Linked DNA regions of Homo sapiens: region 1 is linked to region 2. Evidence: promoter capture Hi-C in 16 types of primary human blood cells and fetal thymus (Javierre and others, 2016). All regions are on one chromosome and are shown on one strand. Each heading gives the region's core, a stretch centred on a gene start or on the middle of the fragment in contact. The rest is flanking DNA. Distances are from core to core; before and after follow the strand shown.

The links. Contacts are between HindIII fragments. The CHiCAGO score rates a contact against its expected background, and 5 or more counts as called.
Region 1: a contact is called between a fragment that was not itself captured here and the fragment with the promoter of ATL3 in region 2, in 1 of 17 cell types (megakaryocytes). The highest score is 6.5, in megakaryocytes.

The regions. Positions count from the first base shown.
Region 1 is chr11:62,889,137-62,894,132 of GRCh38, forward strand. No RefSeq gene overlaps it. Among named protein-coding and RNA genes, the nearest start is that of SLC3A2, 11 kb to the left of the region's middle. The HindIII fragment of the contact is 3,063 bases long and covers 742-3,804 here.
Region 2 is chr11:63,668,569-63,673,754 of GRCh38, forward strand. It overlaps ATL3 (atlastin GTPase 3), which reads right to left and starts at 2,808. Exons shown (of 13, transcript NM_015459.5): 1 at 2,722-2,808. The coding sequence starts at 2,767. RefSeq lists enhancers at 2,173-2,674, 2,675-3,174, 3,215-3,324 and silencers at 2,335-2,594, 2,625-2,684, 3,005-3,124. The HindIII fragment of the contact is 2,416 bases long and covers 2,194-4,609 here.

The sequences.
Region 1 (4,996 bases), core at 1,023-3,522, 780 kb before region 2:
CAGACTTGGCCTTTCACGGAGAGTAGGGGTGGGATGGTCTGGTTTTTAAAAGGTATTTCTAAAGGATACTAGAGGTCATGCATTCAAGAATTTGTTGAACACTCAGCACATACCAGAAACTGTCCCTGTTCTGGGGTCACAGCAGGGAACACAGTACAAAAATTCCTGCCTCCTTGGGGCTCATACCCTTTGGGGAGCAAAGAAAAAAGACACAGCTGTTGTAGTGCAGAGGATATGGTGACAGTGTTTTTATGGAGGAAAAAGTAAAGCAGGAAAGGTGTTTCAGGGTAGAGGGGGCCAAAGGAGGCCTCACCACGGAGGTGACCTGTGAGTAAAGGCCTAATAAGTGAGGGAGTTCACCTGGTGAGTATCTGGGGAAGGGGCTTCCTGGGACTGAGGGGTGGGAGCCTGGCTGATATGAATGAGGAAAGGAGTAAGGGATGAAGTCTCATCGGCAAGGAGTGGGCAGATCATGACAGTTGTAATAAGGTGGTCACGTAGGGTGCAGAGAGTTTGGCAGCCTACGTGGTTGGAGGGCATGGTCCCCACAAGTCTGTTTTCACTTCAATACCAGCTGCAAGTTCAGGGGTCCCCATGACCACCTTCAGGTAGGTAATAGACTAGAGTGACTCAGAACTCAGGAAGGTATTGGGATTATGGTTTTATTACAGCAAAAGCATACCCAGAGCCAGCCAAAAGATGAGAGGCCTGGGGCGGGGTCTGGGAGGGAGCTAAATAAGAAGCTTCCTGCTATCTTGCAATGGAGTCCTGGTACTTCTTCCCGGCCATGACGGAGATATAACCAGAGAAGCTCACTTGATCCTTGGGTGTGCCGAGTTTCCCCTGGTGTTTAATCACATAGTGCCCTGTGGCTGACCTTTAATCTTCAGCCCCTGTGAGAGCTTTGGGCTAAGGCCTTTAGTTGTCTCCATTTCCCCCAGAGGTTGCCTGTTCCAAAGCTCAGATCGTAAATCACATTTATCACTGACACTCCTGTTGGTCAGGACATTCCATGGGTCTAGAGGGCACTTACCAGTAGCCGAGGGTAAAGGCCAGACTTCCAAGTAAGAATTCTTCACTACACATAGAGTCTGAGGGAGTGGAATGGGAGTTGTTGGAGGGTTTTGAGCAGAGTGACATGGTCTCGCTTGGAATTTAACAGACTTCACTGGCTGTTACTAGCCAGCTTGCAGGGAGGCCAGTTAAGATGGTTTGTTCCTGCAACCTAGAATACTTTCTAGGATGGTAGTAGTGGAGGTGGTAAGAAGTGTTAAGAAGTGTTTGGGTCCTGCGTTTCTTTTTTTTTTTTTTTTTTTTTGAGACTCACTCTTGTCACCTAGGCTGGAGTGCAGTGGTGCGACCGCTGCAAGCTCCGCCTCCCAGGTTCATGCCATTCTCCTGCCTCAGCCTCCCGAGTGGCTGGGACTACAGGCGCCCGCCACCACACCCGTCTAATTTTTTTGTATTTTTAGTAGAGACGGGGATTCACCGTGTTAGCCAGGATGGTCTCGATCTCCTGATCTCGTGATCCGCCCACCTCGGCCTCTCAAAGTGCTGGGATTACAGGCGTGAGCCACGTGCCTGGCTGGTCCTGCGTTTATTGTGCAAGCAGATCTGCAGTATTTGCTGTTGGGATCCTGTTGCAGTACTAGTGATCTGCGCAGGCCTCATGGCCCTTGGAGTTAGTTCGGCTCTCTTAGTTTTCTTACAGAAAAGAATGCTGGCTGGGTGCGGTGGCTCGTGCCTGTAATCCCAGCACTTTGGGAGGCCGAGGCAGTTGGATCACCTGAGGTCAGGAGGTCGAGAACAGCCTGACCAATATGGCAAAACCCCGTCTCTACTGAAAATACAAAAATTAGCCGGGCATGGTGGTGGGCGCCTGTAATCCCAGCTACTCGGGAGGCTGAGAAAGGAGAATTGCTTGAACCTGGGAGGCGGAGGTTGCAGTGAGCAAGATCACACCACTGCACTCCAGCCTGGGCAAAAGAGCAAGACTCAGTCTCGGAAAAAAAAAAACAAAACAAAAAACGCGGGTCACTGGTGCAGGCTTCACTTCCCATGGGCTGTGTCCTGGAGTGGGCCTGGGCCTCTGAGGGTTTCCTGGTGTAGGGGAGAGATCAAGACATTAAAAGACCCAAATTAAGGCCCAGGATCCTGAGGCTGTCAGCACAGTTCCTGAGAAGACACTCAGCCTGCTGGGCCTTGGCTTCCCTCTGCCTAGGGTTTCCCTTCTCTCTCAGCAACCACCCCCACACCCGCCCCACCTTCTGGCTGTTGCCTGCTCTGGGCCTCTTCCTGAGGCTCCCCACCCTTCCCTGTCCATGTCCTTTCCCAGGGTCCCAGCTCCAGCCCTCCCCCTTTCCTCCTTCCTCTGCCTCCTGGACTCCCCTCTTAACACAGTTTTTATCTTAGTGCTATTATGGATGGAGCCTCATTATGGTTATGTGCTTATTTAATTTTCATCTTTTCCCCCGTCCTAACCACTAGACCACCAGGGAGATTTTCACTTAAGAAAAGTATAGTAAGGCCAACTGGTGGCTCATGCTTGTAATCCTAGCACTTTGGGAGGCTGAGGTGGGAGGGTTTCTTGAGGCCAGGAGTTTGAGACCAACCTGGGCAACATAGTGAGACCCCTGTCTCTATTAAAAAAAAAAATTAGCTGGGCATGGTTGCATGTGCCTGTAGTCCCAGCTAACCTGGAAGCTAAGGCGGGAAGATCACTTGAACTCTGGAGGTTGAGGCTGCAGTGAGGTATGATTGCACCACTGCACTCCAACCTGGGTGACAGAGTGAGACCCTGTCTCAAAAAAAAAAAAAAAAAAAAAAAAATTATAAGATACATGGCATAAAATTTACTATTTTATTTATTTATTTTTGAGATGGAATCTTGCTCTTTCGCCCAGGCTGGAGTGCAGTGGTATTCATCTGGACTCACTGCAACCTCCGCCTCCCGGGTTCAGGTGATTCTCCTGCCTCAGCCTCCTGAGTAGCTGGGAATTACAGGTGCCTGCCACCACACCCAGCTAATTTTTGTATTTTTAGTAGAGACGGTTTCACCATGTTGGCCAGGCTGGTCTTGAACTCGTGACCTCAAGTCATCTGCCCTTCTTGGCCTCCCAAAGTGCTGGAATTACAGGCATGAGCCACTGCGCCCGGCTGTTAGCAAGCATTTTTGAGTTACTGCTCTGTCTCTGGTACCATGCTCAACTTTCTGGGTACAGGGGTGAACAAGACCCTGTTCTGACATGATTTCCAACCTCCAAAGGACCAAGCGCTTGAAATGATAAGCACTGAGAACCTCTCTTAAGGGTTAAGGGCACCACAAACTGAGATAATGTAACAATGTAGCAAGTCATTGGTTTAATGACTTTCACTTTTAAGTCATTATGACACACACCTAGGAGGACTGTGGGAACCCTGTTCATGGAGGCTGAGGGCTCAGAGAAGTAAAGGGACCCTTCTAGACACAGCAATGGAGCTGCCATTCAGACCCAGGCCTTAGTACCATGGTCAAGCCCCATGTGCCAATGGACTTGGTCCTTCCTGGGATCCCTGGCCAATTACCTGCCTTTGGCTCATGGGTCAGGGTGGATATCTCTGTCAGCCTGAGCCATTCTTCTGGTTCCAATTGATGTGCTACATGTTGGGGACATAAACGGAACTAAAATACTGTCCTGCTGATCTGATTTTCACTGATCAGGAGTGAAAGCAGATGTGTAAGTAACCGGGGGTGAGATAAAGGCTGTAGAGCACCAGGCCCTGTGATGGACCGAGGAGGAGCTTAACCCCAGAGGGATCAGGAAAAGCTTCCTGGAGCCTTCATTTGAGCTGAGATTGAGGCACCAGAAGGCATTCACGTTATGCATGTGAAGGAAAAGGCCACCGGGTATAGGTGACATTATGTACCACTGCTCAGTTGAGACAGCCTGACGAATGTGAGGAACTGTAACTGGGACATAAAGTGTGATTTTGGACAAATTGGGAGAGTGGTGAGAGCCAACCAGAGGCTGAAGCACAAAGGGCTTTAACAGCCATGGCTCAAGTTGTCTGTACTTTACCCCATCATGTAGATCAGTGGTTCCCAGCCTGGTTATGCAGAATCCTCTGGAAAAAATTTTCCCATCCAACTTACACCAAATCAGAATCTCCAAGGGGCATATGCTGTGAATCTCCAAGGGTGTGAGCTTGGACGTTTATTTTAATTTTATTTTATTACTTTTTTTGAGAAGCAGTCTCACTCTGTCACCCAGGCTGGAGTGCAATGGCACAATCTCGGCTCACTGCAACCTACGCCTCCCGGGTTCAAGCGATTCTCCTGCTCCAGCCTCCTGAGTAGCTGGGATTACAGGTGCCCACTATCATGCCCCACTCAATTTTTGTATTTTTTTTAGTAGAGACGGGGTTTCACCATGTTCAGGCTGGCCTCAAACTCTCGACCTCAGGTGATTCGCCCGCCTTGGCCTCCCAAAGTTCTGAGATTATTGGCGTGAGCCACCGTGCCTGGCTGGAAGTTTATTTTTAGCCACCTTCCCCAAATGATTCTTAAAGCAGATCAGTGTTTCCCAAGTGTGCTGAGTTATGCCCGAGGGCAATGATTAGAAATAAAAGCCTTCTCCTGCGCAATGGCTTGGGCCTGTAATCCCAGCACTTTGGGAGGCCGAGGCGGGCAGATCACGAGGTCAAGAGATTGAGACCATCCTGGCCAACATGGTGAAACCCTGTCTCTTCTAAAATAACAAAAAGTGGCTGGGCGTGGTGGCTCACGCCTGTAATCCCAGCACTTTGGGAGGAGGAGGCGGGCGGATCACGAGGTCAGGAGATCGAGACCATCCTGGCTAACACGGTGAAACCCCGTCTCTACTAAAAATACAAAAAACTAGCCGGGTGTGGTGGCTGGCGCCTGTAGTCCCAGCTACTCAGGAGGCTGAGGTAGAAGAATGGCATGAACCTGGGGGGCGGAACTTGGAGTGAGCCGAGATCGTGCCACTGCACTCCA
Region 2 (5,186 bases), core at 1,558-4,057:
ACTAAGGATTGTGTAATGCTTCATAGGTTTACAAAAATTATCTATGACTAAATGGTACTGAAGATTCAGAAAATCCAAGGAGAGGGCTGAATCTGAAAATGATGCCAGGCTATATCACAAGTGGAGGAAAAAAACCTTTTTAATGGAATGAGCTCAGTAACACTTTTGTATCTCTTTCCTAAGAATAAGAATGCCACCAAAGGTTTGAATTAGCTGTGTTCCTTTTTTTTTTTTTTTTTTTTTTTTGAGACAAGGTCTCACTCTGTTGCCTAGGCTGGAGTGCAGTGGCAAGAACAAGGCTCACTGCAGAAAAAAGAAAAAAAAAAAGGCTCACTGCAGCCAACTTCCTGGGCTCACTCCATCCTCTCACCTCAGCCTCCTGAGTAGCCAGAACTACAGGCCTGCAACACCACGTTGGCTAACTTTTTTTTAATTTTTTTTTGGGTGGGGGGGGGCGTCTCACCATGTTGGCCAGGCTGGTCTTGAACTCCTGACCTCAGGTGATCCACCTGCCTCAGCCTCCCAAAATGCTGGGATTACAGGAGTAAACCACAGCTCCCGGCCAAGTAAGGATTTCCTAATTAGCGCCTACTATACCAGGAAAGCCTGTCTTCTAATCTGTTAACATACTTCAGCTGTGAAATATATCTAAGGTGTTCTGACAATCGAAATACCACGCAACTGGGCCAGGCGCCGTGGCTCACACCTGCAATCCCAGCACTTTGGGAGGCCGAGCTAGGAGGATCACCTGAGGTCAGGAGTTCAAGATCAGCCTGGCAAACATGGTGAAACCCCGTCTCTACTAAAAATACAAAAATTACCCAGGCGCGGTGGAGGGCGCCTGTAATCCCAGCTACCTGGGAGGCTGCGGCAGGAGAATCGCTTGAACCTGGGAGGCGGAGGTTGCAGTGAGCAGAGATCGCGCCATTGCACTCCACCCTGGGCGAGAGAGCAAGACTCCTTCTCACCAGAAGAAAAAAAAAGAAAAGAAAAAGAAAATTAAGCTAGTACACAACACCACATCTATCCCGTTACTTCTATTTCATGAATTCTACTACAATGAGGTAGTAAACTGTAGCTAATACAATAATGGGCCGGGCACGATGGCTCACGCCTGTAATCCCAGTACTTGGGAGGCCGAGGAGAGGAGGGTGGTTCACCTGAGGTCAGGAGTTCGAGACCAGCCTGGCCAACGTGGTGAAACCCCGTTTCTACTAAAAATACAAAAAATTAGCTGGGCCTGGTGGCGGATGTCTATAATCCCAGCTACTCGGGAGGCTGACGCAGGAGAATCATTTGAACCCAGGAGGCGGAGGGTGCAGTGAGCCGAGACTGCGCCACTGTACTCCAGTTTAGGTAGCAAAAACGAAACTCCGTCTCAAAAAAAAATAGCCGCGCATGGTGGAGAGCGCCTGTAATCCCAGCTACCCGGGAGGATGAGGCAGAAGAATTGCTTGAACCCAGGAAGCGGAGGTTGCAATCAGCCGAGATCGCGCCATTGCACTCCAGCCTGGGTGACCAGAGCAAAACTCCGTCTCAAAAAATAATAATAAAACAATGTGCTGGACTACTGCAATACTGAGATCCTTCTCAGCCAAGTGTTTACAGGTGTTAGAGCGGCAACAGGAATTTCTGGAGTACAAGCTAATCTCTGTGGGAATGGAAAAAAAAAAGCACTAATTTGAATTTCAGTACCTATGTTGCAATGCTAAATTCTTGACAGGGATTAGTACTCCGTAGGTTATGCTTCTTAAATCTCCAAAAGTAAGCCAATATGTGAAATCGTACATTTTTGGTCCGTTATTCTAAGACTGACAAAACGTTCCATTGCTTCGTATTTGAATTTGAGAACTGAGACTCATTTAAAAATTCTTCACTGTTCTTTTCCTTTTTGCTCTTCGATTTCGCAAGTGAAACGGTCATTTCAACAGCACACACATTACACTAGAATAAAGCCAAGTAAAATGACAGACTAAATCAGATCCGTGAATACACGGTGACTCCTTATTTGGTTTTTAATACTTTCACTATGTTTCATGTCTTCGGGAAAGCAAAAGAACAACGTACTGTGCCAAAAGCACTAACTTACGAAAAACCAATTTAGACCAATTCTTTACAGCGTTAAGTATGGGTTGAAAACCAACTTTCCTAATACTTGTGGTCAGTGCCTCAAGGTCGTTAGGATAAAAATAAAGCTTCCAAGACACTTCGCAGCCTTCCAGCACTTCCAGAAAGGCCAAATAAACCAGCATTCACCTTCCCGCTCCATCCAGGCCCCGATTCTCCGACCAGAGAGGGCGCTGAGTGCCCGGGCACGGAGGGGCAGCGCCCTGGGGCGCCCGGCTCTGCCCAGGGCGGGGCTCGGCGGGGCCGAAGCTCCGGACGCCGCCCACGGGGACCACCGGCCCTTGGGCCGCCCAGGGGCAGCTGCAGCCCAGGGGAGGAGCTGGAGGAGCCCCCGGCGGCACCAGGGCCCGAGCCCTGACGGCGGCCGCCCCCGGCCGAAAAGTAAGGAAGGTGCCGCCCTCGCTGGACCAGCTGGGCCCGAAGAGGGGCCCCCCCACCACAAATTCGGAAACCGAGTGACCCCGGCGAGGGACGCGCGGTCCCAGCCCCGGGACGAGGAAGGGCGGCGGCGCGGGCGGGGGTTCTTTTCAGAACTACAGCAGGGAAGGCGGCGGGGGTGGCCGCGGGGCGATCCAGGGAAAATCGGCGCCTCACCTGCTCCTCTTGAGGCAGCTGCTGCCACTCGCTGAGGGGACAACATGGAGCCTCCGCCTTCAAAGCAGAAGCAGCAGGGGTGCAGAGGAGAGGGACGGGTGCGGGCGGGAACGAACCGGGCCCTGGAAGCGGGAAACGGGCGGAGCCTGGGCTCTAGAAAAAACTAGCCAGAAGGTGGGGCACGCGGAGCCGCGACGGAGCGAGCGCAGCGCGGTCTGCGTGGCCCAACGGACAGCCCGAGGCGTGGCGAGCGCAGGACGAGGCTAGGCGAGGCGGGGCGGGAAAGCGCACGCGGCAGAATCCCGCCACCGCCTGCCGCGTGTGCGCGAAGCGAGCCGCCGGGTACCTGTTGGCGGGGCGCTGAGTGCTACCGTCCTTTGGGAATTGTAGTCCCGCGCTCACTGGGTCCCGGCCAGCGGTCCTCATACTGCGCACTCATCTGGGGCGGGGCTTGGCGTGGTTCTCCGACGACTGAACTACAACTCCCAGCAGGCTGTGCGGGAAGGGGCGGGCTGGCTCGGGTCCTCCTGCGAGCTGCGGCCGGCGCCTAACGTGCAGACCAGGCCCCAGGCCGAGGCTTTATCCTGGAACCACCAGTGTGAGAGACAGCTTTGGTGTTTAACTAGGCCTGGGACCACAGGTGGGCAGAAGAGAGGCCTCAACCCTGGATGGCATGAACGTCACTGGGTCTTTAATGATTTTGACTTCATAAGGGCAGGTGGCCGTGACTTCATTACCACCTTTATTATCATCTCCCTATATTCCTGTCCCTGGCCATGGCTGATGCGCACCATCACCGCTCTGATAGCTAATGTAAGAAGTCCAGGCCGGGCGCCGTGCCTCACGCCTGTAATCCCAGCACTTTGGGAGGCCGAGGCGGGTGGATCACCTGAGGTCGTGGGCGTTCGAGACCAGCCTGACCAACATGGAGAATCCCCGTCTCTACTAAAAATACGAAATTAGCCAGGCGTAGTGGCGCACGCTTGTAATCCCAGCTAGTCCAGAGGCTGAACAGGAGAATCGCTTGAACCCAGGAGGCGGAGGTTGCAGTGAGCCGAGATCGCACCATTGCACACCAGCGTAGGCAACAGGAGCAAAACTCCATCAAAAAAAAAAAAAAAAAACTTGCACGCACATCCCAGCATTCTCTGCTCCTTTTCCCTGCATTACTTTTCTCCAAAAGACTTCATACCACTTGGCCAGGCGCGGTGGCTCACGCCTGTAATCCCAGCACTTTGGGAGGCTGAGGTGGTTGGATCACCTGAGGTCGGGAGTTCAAGACCAGCCAGGCTAACATGGTGAAACCCCATCTCTTCTAAAAATACAAAAAATTAACCAGGCGTGGTGGCAGGCGCCTGTAATCCCAGCTACTCGGGAGGCTGAGGCAGGAGAGGTTGCATTGAGTGGAGATGGCACCACTGCACTCCAGCCTGGGAGAAAGAGCAAGACTCCATCTCAAAAAAAAAAAAAAAAAAAAAGACTTCCTGCTACTATCTGACTTATGTTTTACCTTTCATTGTGTTTGTCTCTTCCCACTGAATGTAAGTTCCAAACAGATAGGAATTTTTGTCTGTTTTGTTTACTTGTATATCCCCAGTCCCTAAATACTGCTGGCAGATAATAGAGACTCAAATATCTATTGAATTAATGGATGAAGAAGATATATGTTACATCTAACACTGCTCACTCACTTTCTGGTTCCTTTAATATTAAATACCTAACTTTTACTATTGAACAAAATACCCTAGTTTATTTTAAGGGCTCCCCAGAGATTCACTGAAATCCAACTTCTCAGGAAGTGACCAGCAAATACTGATATATGTCTCAATATTACATCATCAAGGTATCAAGGTCAATGTTAGCACATCAGCATTGTAGCCCTTGTAGAAGCTTTTGGCATTTGGAACAAAACAGTACAAATTATAGGTGGACTTAAGGATTAGTCACAACTTAGAAAGCAACCCCTGTAAATGAGAAACATGTTTTGTGTTATTTCCTTCTCAAATATCCAGGGTCATCAAAACACTGGACATTGAAAGTGCCAAATATTGACAATACTGGTTACAGCCTGCCTTCAGCTATCTCACTCTGAATTGAGTTATGTGCTATGATCAGAGGTTGAGCTTCCCTTGAGGTTTTCCAGAAGTAGGTGACATGTAGACATATTTGAGTGGACAGACTACTGGCTTTGGGGTCAGACTTACCTGGCTCTGATGTTCACTAGCTATGCAACCTTGGGCGAGCTACTTAACCTCTCTGAATCCATTTCATCATCTGCAAAATGATTTAAAGACCCACACGGTTGTTCTAGGCTAAGTGAGCTGTGTGTTTGGAAATGATGACTGCGTGGTTAGTGATCAAAATTAGTAATCAGCATATTCATTCTGGAAAAGCAAAATAAAGTCATAAATATTCAAGATACTCAAGTGGTTTATGAAACACAAAAATAGCAAAATTGTTTTCTG